Linked DNA regions of Homo sapiens: region 2 is linked to region 1. The links are contacts of gene promoters, found by promoter capture Hi-C in blood cells and fetal thymus (Javierre and others, 2016). All regions are on one chromosome and are shown on one strand. The core of a region is centred on a gene start or on the middle of the fragment in contact, and the rest is flanking DNA. Distances in the headings are between cores, read along the strand shown. Region 1 holds the start of PGRMC1 (progesterone receptor membrane component 1). Region 2 holds the start of LONRF3 (LON peptidase N-terminal domain and ring finger 3).

What was found. Contacts are between HindIII fragments. The CHiCAGO score rates a contact against its expected background, and 5 or more counts as called.
Region 2: the fragment with the promoter of LONRF3 here is called in contact with the fragment with the promoter of PGRMC1 in region 1 in 11 of 17 cell types (monocytes, activated CD4 T cells, non-activated CD4 T cells and 8 more); the score reaches 13.5 in monocytes.

The regions. Positions count from the first base shown.
Region 1 is chrX:119,232,458-119,239,431 of GRCh38, reverse strand. PGRMC1 (progesterone receptor membrane component 1) reads right to left here and starts at 3,147. Exons shown (of 3, transcript NM_006667.5): 1 at 2,741-3,147. The coding sequence starts at 3,068. It also overlaps the pseudogene NUDT19P6. RefSeq lists silencers at 2,535-2,684, 3,085-3,344, 3,375-3,424. The HindIII fragment of the contact is 8,490 bases long and covers 2,166-6,974 here.
Region 2 is chrX:118,969,306-118,976,050 of GRCh38, reverse strand. LONRF3 (LON peptidase N-terminal domain and ring finger 3) reads right to left here and starts at 1,433. Exons shown (of 11, transcript NM_001031855.3): 1 at 454-1,433. The coding sequence starts at 1,270. The HindIII fragment of the contact is 6,269 bases long and covers 1-5,386 here.

The DNA.
Region 1 (6,974 bases), core at 1,898-4,397:
CCCCCAAGGCAGATTGAATAGCAGCCCTGACATTAAAATGTTTGTAGGGAACCAAGTATGAGAATAGATCAAGTTTCAATATGGCCTGTTCACCTGAAACCTCAATACACTCAGAAATTTTTTACAAATTTTACAACTTTTAAATGCAAGTAAAATTCCAAAGAAAAATGCTTATTTTTAATCATCATTACATGCTGCCACATTCACTAAAGAAGGTAAAAAAAAGCCCACATTTTTCATAAATGTACACCCCTAGTGGAAATGGCAGCACCTAGTGCTTGAGAATAGGCAAATGCAATGGTTTGAACCTTACCATTTCAGAAATTATGGTCATTGGCTTGGTAGAGTGAGTCTTTACCAAGCAAACCTCATAGAATATTTAAACATAGAATATTTAAACCTCATAGAATATTTAAACATTTAAACAATTAAATGTTCTCTAGTGGGAACATTAAAAGTCTTTTAAAAATACATATTATTCAGTGCAACATATATTCACTAGAACGTAAGCTCCATAGGCAGAGATTTGTGTCTGTTTTGCTCACTGCTATATTCCCACATCTACAACAGTGCCTTGCACAGAATTAACAGGCACTAGAATGACTAATTTTTAGGAATCCTTTACAACATGAAGCATCACTTTCTACCAAGATGTCACGTAGTCATGGGCTCACTGAATGACAGTGCAAGATAGAGACAGAGATCTCACAATAGGCCATCTTTATCACTTTTCAGAGGGAAAACTAAGGCTCTGAGAGAACAATGCTTTGCACAAGGTCACACAGCTAGTCATGACCCAATCAGGACTAGAACGCAGGTTGCCTGACTCCCAGTTTTGTGCTCTGTGCACAGGCTGACATCCTCTCAATGACTCTGCAAACTACAGTCATGATGATGCCTCATGCACATGTTTTCACTCCTTTAATATTGAGCTCAATATTAACAGGTATTTACATGATTATGTTTATTGATAAAGCAACTATGTGTGCTACTCTAAGTGACAAATAATGTATGTGGTTTTCAAATGATTTTGACAGTTACATGCCTATAGAAAGCAGGTATTCTAAAATATCCACAGGCCCGGTGCAGTGGCTCATGCCTGTAATCCCAGCACTTTGGGAAATGGAGGTGGAAGGACTGCTTGCGCCCAGGAGTTCGAGACCAGCCTGGGCAACACAGGAGGGAGACCCTGTCTCTAAAAAATAAATAAAATTTATTTTTTATAATAAATAAATGTCTGCAAGAAAAAACTGAGCTCCTTAACCTTAACACATCTGATTTTGATCAGTTGGACTGGGAGACTAAAATGAATGCCTGAGTTTGTGTACTGCCTTCTGTACTCTTCCCTCTCTCAGGCCAGTGTGGAATGAGCACCGTCCATGTGGACATCCTCTAAGCTCCCTGTGTTTAGAGGAGTCCATATTGGAGGAGCCAAAACCTCTTCTTCCTCATCTCCAAGTATTCTATAAAGCAGGACTTTGCAAGCCTGGCTGCTTTTCAAATTCGCCTGGGAAGCATATTAAAATACAGACTCCCGGACCACCCGAGACTCATTTGCAGCTCTGGCGGTTAGACTGGGAATCTGTATTTTTCCTCAGATGCATCAGGTGATTCTGATACGCAACCAGGTTTGCAAAAACCTCGCCTCTAAGGAACCCATCAGGCCTGCCTTCTCCAACAGCTCAGCAGTGCAGCAGTCATCCATTCTTCATTTCCCTCTGGTTGGCTTTTCCTGATATCCCCCCACCCAGCAGTCTTCTTAGCTCTACTCCTTTTGTTTCTTGGTATCCTCCCACTTCTCCCTCCCTCCATTTTAATTTTTCTTGGCTTCTAATCCTTTCTCTCCTGCTATAGACTAAATACCATATTACCTTAAAAGCTTGCCACGTTACCATTGTCCACCATATTCAGCCTTTATTCCTCCCTCAAACAGCCCCCTTCCTCCTTGTTCACCTTCCAGCCTTTCCCCATCTGCCACACACAGCACAAGCGCACACAGACCAAACACATGCCACACACATACCTGACGCATGACCCATTTCAAGCGCGCATGCACACACCACACACACACACCCCTGATAAATCACATACACTAAACACGCACACACCGCGCATGCACACACCACGAGTGCACACACACATCACTATCCACCGGGCACAAAGCTTTTACCTGCTGCTAATCCCGTCTCGGCGTTTTCTCCCACACCCTCATATTTCAAACCTACTCCCGGTGTCATTGGCCTTCCCGTCTTCTCTAGGTCTGGACCTTTTCTCACTCTCGCCCTCCCCCATGCCTCCCTCGGAACACCCTCATTTCCTTCCTAGAACCCGACACTACCCCCTCCTCCTTCCAGGAATCCCCAAGCCCAGGACCTTCGAAAACTACCCCAACAGCCTGGGCTTTGATGTGTCCCCCCTCAACGCCTTCGAGCTTCGTGGTCCCACCCACCCCCGGCTTAAGCGCCTCAGCCTTCTTTCTCTAACCCCCTCCCAGCGCTGTCAGCGCGGGCCGGGGATCCGCGTCCCTGACTGGCCCGCAGCCCCTCTAGAGCGCCTCTTGTTCCCTGCCCGCCCCGGGAGCCTCCCGGCTCTCCGCCTGCCCGCCTACCCGCCTACCCTAGCTCGCCGCCATTCCTCCCTCCACTCAGGGGCGCCCCGCTCCCGCCTCGCCTCTCTCCCGCCCAGCCCCGTGCCGGGGCCCCCTTCTTTTGTCTCCAAGCCCCCCTCGCCGGCCGCGTACCGGGCCCGTAGAATTTGCGGCCTTTGGTCACATCGAACACCTTGCCGTTGATGGCCATGAGTATGCGCGGGTCCTGGACGCCGTCGAAGCGCCGCAGCTCGGCGGGGGTGAAGTCGCGCCGCTTGAGGCGGGGCAGAGGGGGCGGCTCGTCGTCGTCGCTGTCGCCGCTGGCCGCCGGCTGGTCCCCGCGCACGATCTTGTAGAGCAGGAAGATGCAGAGGCCAAGCAGCAGCAGGTTGAGCGGCGACGTGAAAATCTCATGCAGCAGCCCGCCGCTCTCCAGATCGCTTGGGTCGGCGCCAGTCGCCACCACATCCTCGGCAGCCATGATCTCTGGAGTAAAGGTTGGGCCGCGCTAGGCAGGGATCCGGAACTCGCCACTTTCTCCTCCCTCTGAGCGAGCGAGTGGCGCGCGGGGTTCGGCGGCGGCCAAAGACTAGCCGGGGAGGAGGCGGGGCCTGAGGGGCGGAGCCTCCAAGCCCCGCCTCCCCCGAGGCCACCTAAGCGCCCCGCCCTGCTCGGTCCCGCCCCGCAGCCCTCAGGCCCCCTCCAAAGCCTCTAGAGTCCGGCGCCGCTCCCCCGCGGCCGCGCGGTGCCCCCCTCAGTTCTACCTGGGAGGCCCCAGCCCAGCCTCACGCCATCCTCGCGCCATCCTATAGCTGAGCGCGACGCACGCGCTGCCCTCCTCTGAACCCCTTTTTTGCTCCTCGCAGACCGACCCGTTGGGAGGGCCTCGGCATTGCCGGGCTCTGTGCGAGCGCCCCTCCGCCACCTGATGCGCGCCAGACACCGACTCCCTTTCTGTTGCTGCAGGCTTTTCCCTGCCTCCCATTCTGAAGCCCCTCATCTTCCCCCTGCCGTTCCCGGGCCCTCCAAGCTGTCTTAGGAGACAGGAAACTCATTCTTCGAACTCCATTTTCTATGTTAGAGCCCTACACGACTCATTTTCACCTTGGGAACCCCCATTCGCTCTCCTTGATGGCCCTTCCCCAATTCTCCCCCAGATGCTGTGGGACCGACACCCCCGGGATTGCTAAAGTCAGTGCACAACTCTCCCTATTATCTGGGGAAACGAATCTGATCGCCCAGTTAACTTTGGGTTTGTTCTCCGAAAAACCCTTTTGCAATTACTGATTTGCTCAGTCACCAGGCATTAACAAGCAACGTTCTCTTGTTGCTCTTTTTTCCCCCCTCAGAATAATGTGAAAGTTTCTTTGTTTGGCAGCGTTCTTCTATTTGGAGTCTGTCAGGCTACCCTTGGCAGTCACAATAACCCTGAGCTGGAGCCCAGACAAAGGCGGGAGTTTGGAAGGATCCTAGGCCTGGTCCCTTCCTTTCCTAGGTATTTCATCCGGCCTTTGATGTGCTAACAGGCTGCACAGAAGCAGACCTCCACGGAGGAAGGGGTTGCCTCGTCCTAATCTGGCCCTTTTTCTGGTGGCGGGGGGAGGGGAGGAGAAGAAAGGATAGAGAGGGAAACAAATAATTAAAACCAAGCCGTGCACACATCTGCAGCCCAGAGCAGTACTTTTCCACCAAGTGTTCTGTTGGCTTGCACATAACTTACTCCTCCTCCCAACACGCAAGAGACTTGAGTAAAGATTGGCTTCCTACCTCAGAATTCTAAAAATTTCTGGCAAAAACTGCTTCCATCCCTGCCCCCCACATCTTCTTAAATCATTATAAAGTGCAATGAGCCAAACAATCTTTGTATCGGGCCCAGGCATTTTTCTCAGAGCTAAATTTGGGATTAGCTGAAACAGCCCCTCCAAATCTTTTGTCAAAACTCTTCAATTTAATCATGGAGAAACAGGCTCAAACTGAGGGCACTTGTCTATAGTTAGAATCTATCTCTTTTAACATGTATGGCCAAGAAAATTTAGAAAGCTAATAAACTTATAAAATATTTTCATTTGCAACTAATATGACAAAGGGTTAATATTTATTTGAGAGATCATTTGGATTGATAAGAAAATGTATAAGATTCTAGTCAATAAATGGGAAAAAATAGGAACAGGTAGTTCACAAAAGAGAGCATGCCAGTGGTGAATAAGCATATGAAAAATGTTCAGTCTCATTAGTAACAAAAAGAAAAGCATGGAGATGCCGCTGTCACCTACTACTTTTCTACAGGAAAGATAAAAGGGAAAAAAAAAAGGATAACACACTATTGGCGAGAGAGTGGTGAGACTCACATACGCTGTTGGGTATAACCTTTTATTATCCATAAAAATATTTTCTATCCATTAATCCCACTTCTAGAAATCTGCTCTTTGACCTAGTAATTCCATTTTCAGGAATCCATCCCAAGGAGACAGAAACGCAGACAAATATTTCATTACTAAGATGCTCAGCAGAGATTCATTTTTAATACAGAAAAACTGGAAACAACCTAAATGTCCGACTTCAAATAAAATGGCGAATTAATTCACTTGAATTGTGACAAAACCATTAAAAGGCCATTCAAATATCATCATTCTGGAGTCCTAATTAGGGAAAGGGAATCAGGCTGGTGGGAGCATGAAATAGCAAAAAGAAAAAGCAAATAAGCTACAAATCTCCCTTTCTTCATGACCAAGATGCAGCCTTCCTGCGCAAATAATTCACAATCTTCCCATGCCCAGCTATCACCAGACACCTGTAAGTTAGCTCATTGCGACCTTGGCATTATCAATATTACACAAAGACCTCTTCAACAGACAGCATAAACGCCATCCTATAAAATTTCCAGCAAGCCTTTGTCTCCTGGCAGTTGGCTTCTCTCTTGCAGGCTGCCCTTTGTCTCTCTGACAACATATTTTCCTACTTTATCTAATAAATCTACCTTCTTTTAACTAAAACTGTTTTGGTAAATTCTTTTACCAAAAATCATGACATGGCAAAACGCTTGTGTTTTAATCTTGAGGGAAAAACAGGATACAAAACTATATACAGTATGAACTCAACTATGTCAAAAAATTCATAAAACAAAGCGTGGAAAGAAATATGCTAAAATGTTAACTGTTGTGATTGTTAGTTTCTTCCTTATACCTTTCTACATTTTCCACAATGGGCATGTGTCACTTTTAACCTCAGGGGGGAAAATGGTTTATTATTTATTTTCTGAAAAAAAATGTAGAATGATAATACATGTTCACTATAACAAACTTAAACAATACGTGAGTGTATAAAGTAAAAAATGAAACTCCTTTCTCCCTCTCCAAGTTCCCCAAACAGTACTTAAATCAGGCCCATACATTAGCAGTTTGGCTTATATTCTTGCAGACATGCAACATACACACACACACACACACACACACACACACACACACACATTTTGTTTTATAAAACTGGGGGAAATTTTATATAATAAAAGTTTTATCATTTTTTTCCAATAAAGAGAGACACAGAGTAAAAAAACAAAACAAAAACCAAGCCATTAGCTCCCCACCCAGATAACCCCTGCTGGAATGTTTTTTCAAAGTAATATTTGTCTAAAGTTAGAAAATTCAAACTATGGGAAGATATAGAAGACAACTGAAGTCCCTCTCCTCACTCTTGATTCTCTTTCCTCAAAGGTAACCGCTATTAAATCTGGGGAAAGTGTTTTCATGGAGGGATGGGGAGGATTAATAATTCTCATTTATCGTAGTCCAGTGTCTCTTCTGCTACACCTCTGTGTCCCCTTGGAGGATAATGGATTAAAGGAAGTCCTGCTTCACAAGGAGGGTAGAAAACTTGTGCAACTTAAGACCTCAAGAAGTGATACAGTTTAAAAATATAAATGCTTGCAAACCAGATTTGATGTTCAATAAAGTGGGCTATTAGCTAACACTGGGATGTAGAGATTGTTGAAGAAAAGCATCCCATCATTCAGGCTCATGTCAGAATCAATGCTGAGTGGAATGGTCTCCTCCAGGGTGGCAGTTCTCAAGTTATCTGGAAATAAGCAAGAGTGCTCCTGAATAAAAAGCCCCCTTCAGAACATGAGAGTTGCCTTAATATGCTCTTTGGCTCCAAGTCAATTCCTAAAGCCGATGTACTTGACCCAAGGACTACTTATTTCCCAAGATACATGTTAAGTCTTTTAGTGTTTTCAAACTTTCTGTCTCCTTTTAATTATTTTCAAAGGTTTTAAAGAGCTTTCAGAGAAAAATAGAACAATTGGCTGATTAGCTAGAAAATGTTTGGGAAATAATTCAGCCTAGTAAGGAAGCAAATAAATCCAAAGGAACATAAAAACAATGCACCATTT
Region 2 (6,745 bases), core at 184-2,683, 260 kb after region 1:
CCTCTCCTCGCTGGGAAGGTGCGAGCAGGTGTAAGAGGAGACCAGGAGTGCAGCGGGAGAAGGAGAGTCAGAGGAACAGAGACAGTGACACCGAAAAAGAAAGAAACAGTGACAAAGATACGAAGAGACGGAGAAAAAGAACCAGAAGCAAGGAGACACAGACAGGAACGGGGACTGAGAGACAGGAACACAAAAGCTAACAGAAGTAGCAGGAAAAGACAAAAAGCAACCGAGATCAACACAAACACAGTGAAACACAGATAAGCAGTGAAAACAGAACAAACTCAGAGACCCAGCCCCAGAATCACCCCTCCCCCACCCCGCCACAGTCCATGGGTCCCCCGCCCCCTCTTCTGCCCTGGTCCAAATCCCTTCTCGCTGCGGGGTTTGTTCTCCCGCTCCCTCATGTAGCCACCGAGCCCCAGCCCCGGCCCGGCAGCGCGTTGGACTCACCCAACTTAACTGCCTCGTTGTACTTGAGCAGTGCCGCCTCCACCTGGCGCTCGCGGTACAGTCGGTTGCCCTCGTGCCGGAGTTGCGACGCTCGCGCTGGGCCTGGAAACAACTTGCCGAGGAGGCCGCTGAGCACCACGTTGACTCGCAGCGGCGGCGGCGGCTGCTGCCCAGCCCGCCGGGCTCCACGCGCCCGCCCAGTGGCCACCATCAAGGCGGAGAGCTTGACCCCGCACAGCGCACAGCGCCGGTCGGCGGCCCGCCCACGTTCCAGGCACAGTTTACAAAAGGTGTGGCCACACGACAAGGACACGGGGTCTGATAGAAACCCATGACATTTCCGGCACTTAAAGCCGTCCCACACCTCGGTGGCCGCCGCAGCCGCGGCGGCCCCCGTCTCTTCCGCCGCCACGGTGCCGCTTGCAGTGCTACCCTCGTCCGGGGGCGCCGGCGCCAGCGCCTCGCCTTGCGGGACTTTCTCCGCCAGGCAGCGCACCAGCTGCTCCAGCTGCTCAGCCACCAGCTGCTGCCGCTCGGAGAGCTGTCTATACACCTCGAGGGCTTCACGGATTCGCCCCCGGGACGCCAAGGCGTCTGCCTGCGTGAGCAGGACTTTGCTCTCCGGCGTTGAGGTCCCCGGAGACTGCTCTTGCTCTGGCTCCCGCGTCGGTAGAGGTGCGGGGCCCTCTGCAGCCACCTTTGGGTGGGGGCCCATGTCTACTTGGGCCGCTGATGCCCCTCGCTCCGCCGACTCCAAGTTGTCGCTGCTGACCTCAGCGGGCAAGCTCAGCATCTGTTCGATCCGTACTGACTCCATGGGAAGAGGGACACGGGAGGAGACGAGGCGTCTAGGGACCGGGGACACGAAGCAAGGAGTGGCAGCTGGAGGAAATCGGGGCAGCCACCGCCGCCATGCCACCGAGCTCCTGACCCTGCCGCGCCTCCGGGAGCTCCATGCCGGCCGCCCCGCGCCGCCTAATAACTGTCTTGTCTCAGCAAAGTGTTATATAAAACGGTACCACGTGACGTGCCGCCACGCTGTTCATTGGCCGGCGGCGGGGAAATTGTTACAAAACCAGACAGTTTTGTAACAGTGTTGCTCTTGCTTCTTTGGGCTTCGCTTTTCTTGGCTTCTTTTTGAGGTTGTTTGTGTTTACACTTCGCCTTATTCCTCCTCACCACCTGGTTCTTTTTCGGAAGTGGGGTTGTGGGGTGGGGAGAAACTCAGTGTCTTCTCTTGGGCTTCTCAGTCTCCAAACCCCACTCCATCCCACCTCCAAACGGGCCAGCAAACAGGTCCCCTCTGCCAGCCGCTGACCAGCGGCCCCCCACTCCTCCCAGGAGAGGCTGGTACCTCGAGGTGCACAGTCCGCAGGGTCTTCCGGGACGCCTAAGACTCTCCCTCTTGGGGGAGATGGCTGCTGTCAGGGAAAGGAAGCAGGTTGGGAGGGGTATCCGTGAAGCCCCCCCACACACACACAACCCAGTCCCAGCCCGAGAGCCCTGGGAGCCCCGCCTGGGTTCCTTGCCTTCTCCCAGGAGCCTCCCAAAGGTGGTGAATTCGGTTTCTGAGGGTGCTTGGTGTTCTGTGCCAAGAGTGACTCAGAGCAGCGGGTCCCACCGGCGCAGAAGTTGGGCAGCGCTCGCTGGACAGTGAGGAACTCGCGGAGAAGATGCGCTTGCCGGCTCAGCCCTGGGAGGGAGATGCCCCGCTAACTCCCCTCTTTACCTCTCTACCCCCAACGCCAGAACTAGCGCTGGGGCAGGCGGTAGGCGCCCAGCTGGAGACACACCAGGCCGGCCCCTGGAGCCACTGGCCGGATGGGCGCGGCAGGGATGTACCCGGCCTGCTGGGGTCGGTGGGTACTCTGGGGGCGTGGGAGAGTGGCAGGGGGAAGACGCGAGCTGAGAGCGCTATTCAGGAGAAAGTCCGCGAATCCCGGCACAGCCCAGTGGCAGACCGAATAGCCTCCAGGTTTGTCGCTCCTGAGCGCTGCGCGGGAAGGGTACAACTGGGCACGAGCCTCAGCGCCTGGTTTACAATGGCTAGGGGGCCTCGACGGTGTCCTACACACTTCCTGAAGGCGAGCGGGGTGGCCAACTGCACACTCTTTGTCTGCCTTGAACCCCCACATTTAGGACGGGAACCAAGCTCACAAATGAGCAGACAGAAAACGGTATAGTCGCACTGCTCCAAGCAGGGAGGCAGGGACTAGGCTTGCCGCTGGCTCAGTTGGCCTTCAGAGCCTGCGGGCTCTTGGGCAGTGCCAGGTTGCCGCCCCAGGGGCCTGAAGACCTATTGTTGCCCCCTGCTGCAGCCACCTCTTAGCCAGATGACCTTGGGGAAGTCAAACTTTAGAATCCATCATTTTTGCTTCTGAACAAATGTTAGAGCTGATCTTACTTGGGATTAAGTCATGTTTCAGAGTTGGGTTATGGCAGGCCCCCTCGGGTCTCTGCTTCTCTTTAGGTAGTTAAACCAGTCTTAGATCAACACCAAGGTCCCAGAGAACAGGTACTATGCAGCCAGCTCTAGAGCCTCTTTCTAATAAGACAGGACAGAGGGAGAGGGTCACAGGGCAGAAAGGAAGCATCACATAGGGGAAAAAAGACACACACACGAAAAAAAAAAAAAATGAAGAAGAAGGAGAAGGAGAAGAAGAAATAGAGAAACTCCAGATGTAGTCAGGAAAGCACGAGGGACACATTGGAAAACTTGGCTTGAAGCCTTGGATTTGTCACATATTTGCTATGAAACCTTAGGTAGGTTCTCCAAACCTTAGTTTCTCTTAATCTCCAAGGTTCCCTCCAGCTCTAACCTTGAGTGGCTTTGATCCTAAGACCAAATTTCATGATACTAACTCAGTTACTTAAGTACAAATGACTAGTCCAAATGCTGTGGATGGTGGCTTGAACCGGGGTTGAGGGGATGGGAAATCAATGGAAGATTGTCCATTTAGTCGGGGTCAGACCTGAGCTAGATTTTTTTTTTTTTTTTGAGATGGAGTTTGGCTATTGTTGCCCAGGCTGGAGTGCAATGGAACGATCTCAGCTCACCACAACCTCCGCCTCCCAGGTTCAAGTGATTCTCCTGCCTCAGCCTCCCAAGTAGCTGGGATTACAGGCACGTGCCACCACAGCTGGCTAATTTTTTTGTATTTTTAGTAGAGACGGGGTTTCTCCATGTTGGTCAGGCTGGTCTCGAACTCCTGACCTCAGGTGATCCGCCCGCCTCAGCCTCCCAAAGTGCTGGAATTACAGGTGTGAGCCACCGCGCCTGGCCCCTGAGCTAGATTTTTAAGATGTAGAAGTCGGAGGACTGGCTAAGAGGTGGAGGAGGTGGCCATACCAAGCAGTAGGGGAGAAACTGGAGTTCCTGGTGAGTTGCTATCTAACTGAAGGGAGCTCTTTTCACCTCTCAGTTTCCCCTACTATCAAATGAGGTCCCCAGCACTAATTATCTGCCTGCCCCTTCAGGCATCTGTGAGGAAGGACAGTCGTTGGGGAAGGTAGAGATTCATGAGATAGATAATGATGAAACCATCTTAATTCAAGAGCTTTACCCCTTTGACATATCTAAAATATATATATATATGTCTGTTACCCAAAATTGTTTCCTAGATGCAAATCTGGGATGTGCTTTGCTCCGTGGATGACCTTGACAAGGGAATATCCCCTGGGTTGATTCCCCTCCCTTGCCCTGTTATGGTAGGAAGGCTAAGAGAGGGCCAGGTCAGGTAGAGAGTCACAGTCCTGCAGGCATGGAGAAGAGAAGCTCTCTCCAGGCAGGCCCTCTTGGCTGCCAGTGCAGGAGGTTGACCGTGAACTTGGTCAGGAATGTGAATAGCAGTCTGGATAATGCGAGGTACTCTGGTGTAAATGGCAGTACCAGCTACTCACTGACCAGACTCCACAGGGAGTTTTACATTGTAATCAAGACTGCCTGTAGGACAACACCAAGTGGGTTTCTATTGAATGCTGAAAAACATTATCACAGTGGTTTTCTTTCTTTGTTTGTTTAAGTTAAACAAATATTACCATTACATTGATAGACATTGTTGAACCAATTCAGAAGTCTCCTACTCAGAATTTCCTTCCCTCTGCTCTTACTAATTGGAGCCCCCCTGGAATGAGGGGAAGGGGGAGATTAACACCATCTTTTTCAGGTGCAAATATTCCCTTTGGAGTGTAAGGTTCTTTAAACCTCCATTTATTTTGCTAGGATCACCTTGTGGCTAAGGTTAACCAAGAAGAGAGAGCAAGGATTGAGCTGCCCCTCATTTTCAACTAGTAGTTTTCCAACTGGACTCTCAAGAATCTCTTTGGGGCTCAGAGGAGACAAGCAGACAGGCTTTGACCCTAGCTCCCCTCAAGCAGGGCAGTATTGTATCCATCTGTTTCACATAACTGAGCCTCCAGGTATGATTTCTTTGAAGAAAAGCTGTCCCTTACAATATCAAGTTTGAAAACCATAGCAATTTTCACACATTTTCATATATTTGTTGGGCATCTTCCACATACCAAGGACTGTTCTAGATACTGGAGACACATCAAAGCAGCAGCCGGGTGTGATGGCTCATGCCTGTAATCCCAGCACCTAGGGAGGCTGAGGTGGGTTGATCACGGCGAAACCCCGTCTCTACTAAAAATACAAAAAAAAAAAAAAAATAGCAGGGCATCATGGTGCACGCCTGTAATCCCAGCTACTTGGAAGTCTGAGGCAGGAGAACGGTTTGAAGCCAGGAAGCAGAGGTTGCAGTGAGCCAAGATCACGCCACTGCACTCCAGTCTGGGCGACAGAGTGAGAGACTCTGTCAAAAAAAAAAAAAAAAAAAAGCAGCACATAACTCCCAGGCTCTCCCTCACTTATGATAGTGCATCTTTCCCCACATACACACATCCTTGTACTGGCTTCCCATGTAGGCTAGAAGCTTCAGAGGGCAAGGACTGGTGTCTTATATCTCCTCCAGTGACATAAGCAGGACAGTGCTTGAACAGATCTTACTGAACATGCCAGTGGACATTCTGGCCCTAGGAGTGTGCAGAGGGACAAGAGGAAACAGTTGGAATGCCATGCACTGTGGTCATTCACAAAGCAGAGACTGGGCACACAAACAACAAATGGTTGACAGTCCTGTACTTGGAAAGGCCTGCTGAGCAACTCTGGGACGAAAGAGTCCATTCGAAGCCAGAGACCTGTAGTAAGGTGTAAGCAACCCCGCACACACATACACATGCACACACTCTATGCCTGGAAGCTTGGCCAAAGCACACATTTGTTCTGTATCTGATATTCTCATTTTATAAACTGGGGTGACCCATAAATCTGCAGTCCTTACAGGGGGAAAAAAAGGAACCATGGACATTAATGGTATTGATATGGAAAGCAAGACCGCTCCTTGCTATACAGAGTAGCCAAAACCCACAACTAAAAGAAAGTTTAGCCGGGCATGGTGGCTCACGCCTGTAATCCCAGAACTTTGGGAGGCCGAGGTGGGTGGATCACTTGAGGCCAGGAGTTCAGGACCAACCTGACCAACATGGTGAACCCCCATCTCTACTAAGAATTAAAAAAATAAATTAGCGGGAGTGGTGGCGCGTGCCTGTAATCCCAGCTACTGAGGAGTCTCAGGCAGGAGAATTGCTTGAACCCAGGAAGTGGAGGTTACAGTGAGCCAAGATCGCACCATTGCACTCCAGCCTGGGCGACAAAGCAAGACTCTGTTTCAAAAAAAAAAAAAAAAAAAAAAAAAGGAAAGAAAAGGAAGGAAGGAAGGAAGGAAAGTTAGCTTACACATCAGCTCTGGTTTCACAAATGAGGCCACTGAACACTAGAGAAGGCAAGTGACTTGCCACAGGTCATAATGAATTTGATACAGCCAAATTGGAAGCTAGGGCTCATATCTCTTTGTTTATAAAATTTTTTTTTTCATATGATCAGAAAGCTAAAGAGCACAGAACATCTCCTTCTTTTTTTTTTTTTTTGAGACAGAGTTTCGCTCCTGTTGCTCAGGCTGGAGTGCAATGTCGTGATCTTGGCTCACTGCAAACTGCGCCTACTGGATTCAAGTGATTCTCCTGCCTCAGCCTCCTGAGTAGCTGGGATTACAAGCATGTGCCACCGCGCCCAGCTGATTTTGTATTATTTTAGTAGAGACAAGATTTCTCCATGCTGGTCAGGCTGGTTTCGAACTCCCGTATCTCCTTCTTATTACTTATTGTAAGAAATTATTTCAGATTTCCCACCTACAAGATTTTCATCAGTTCAGCAAATATTTATCGAGCATATACT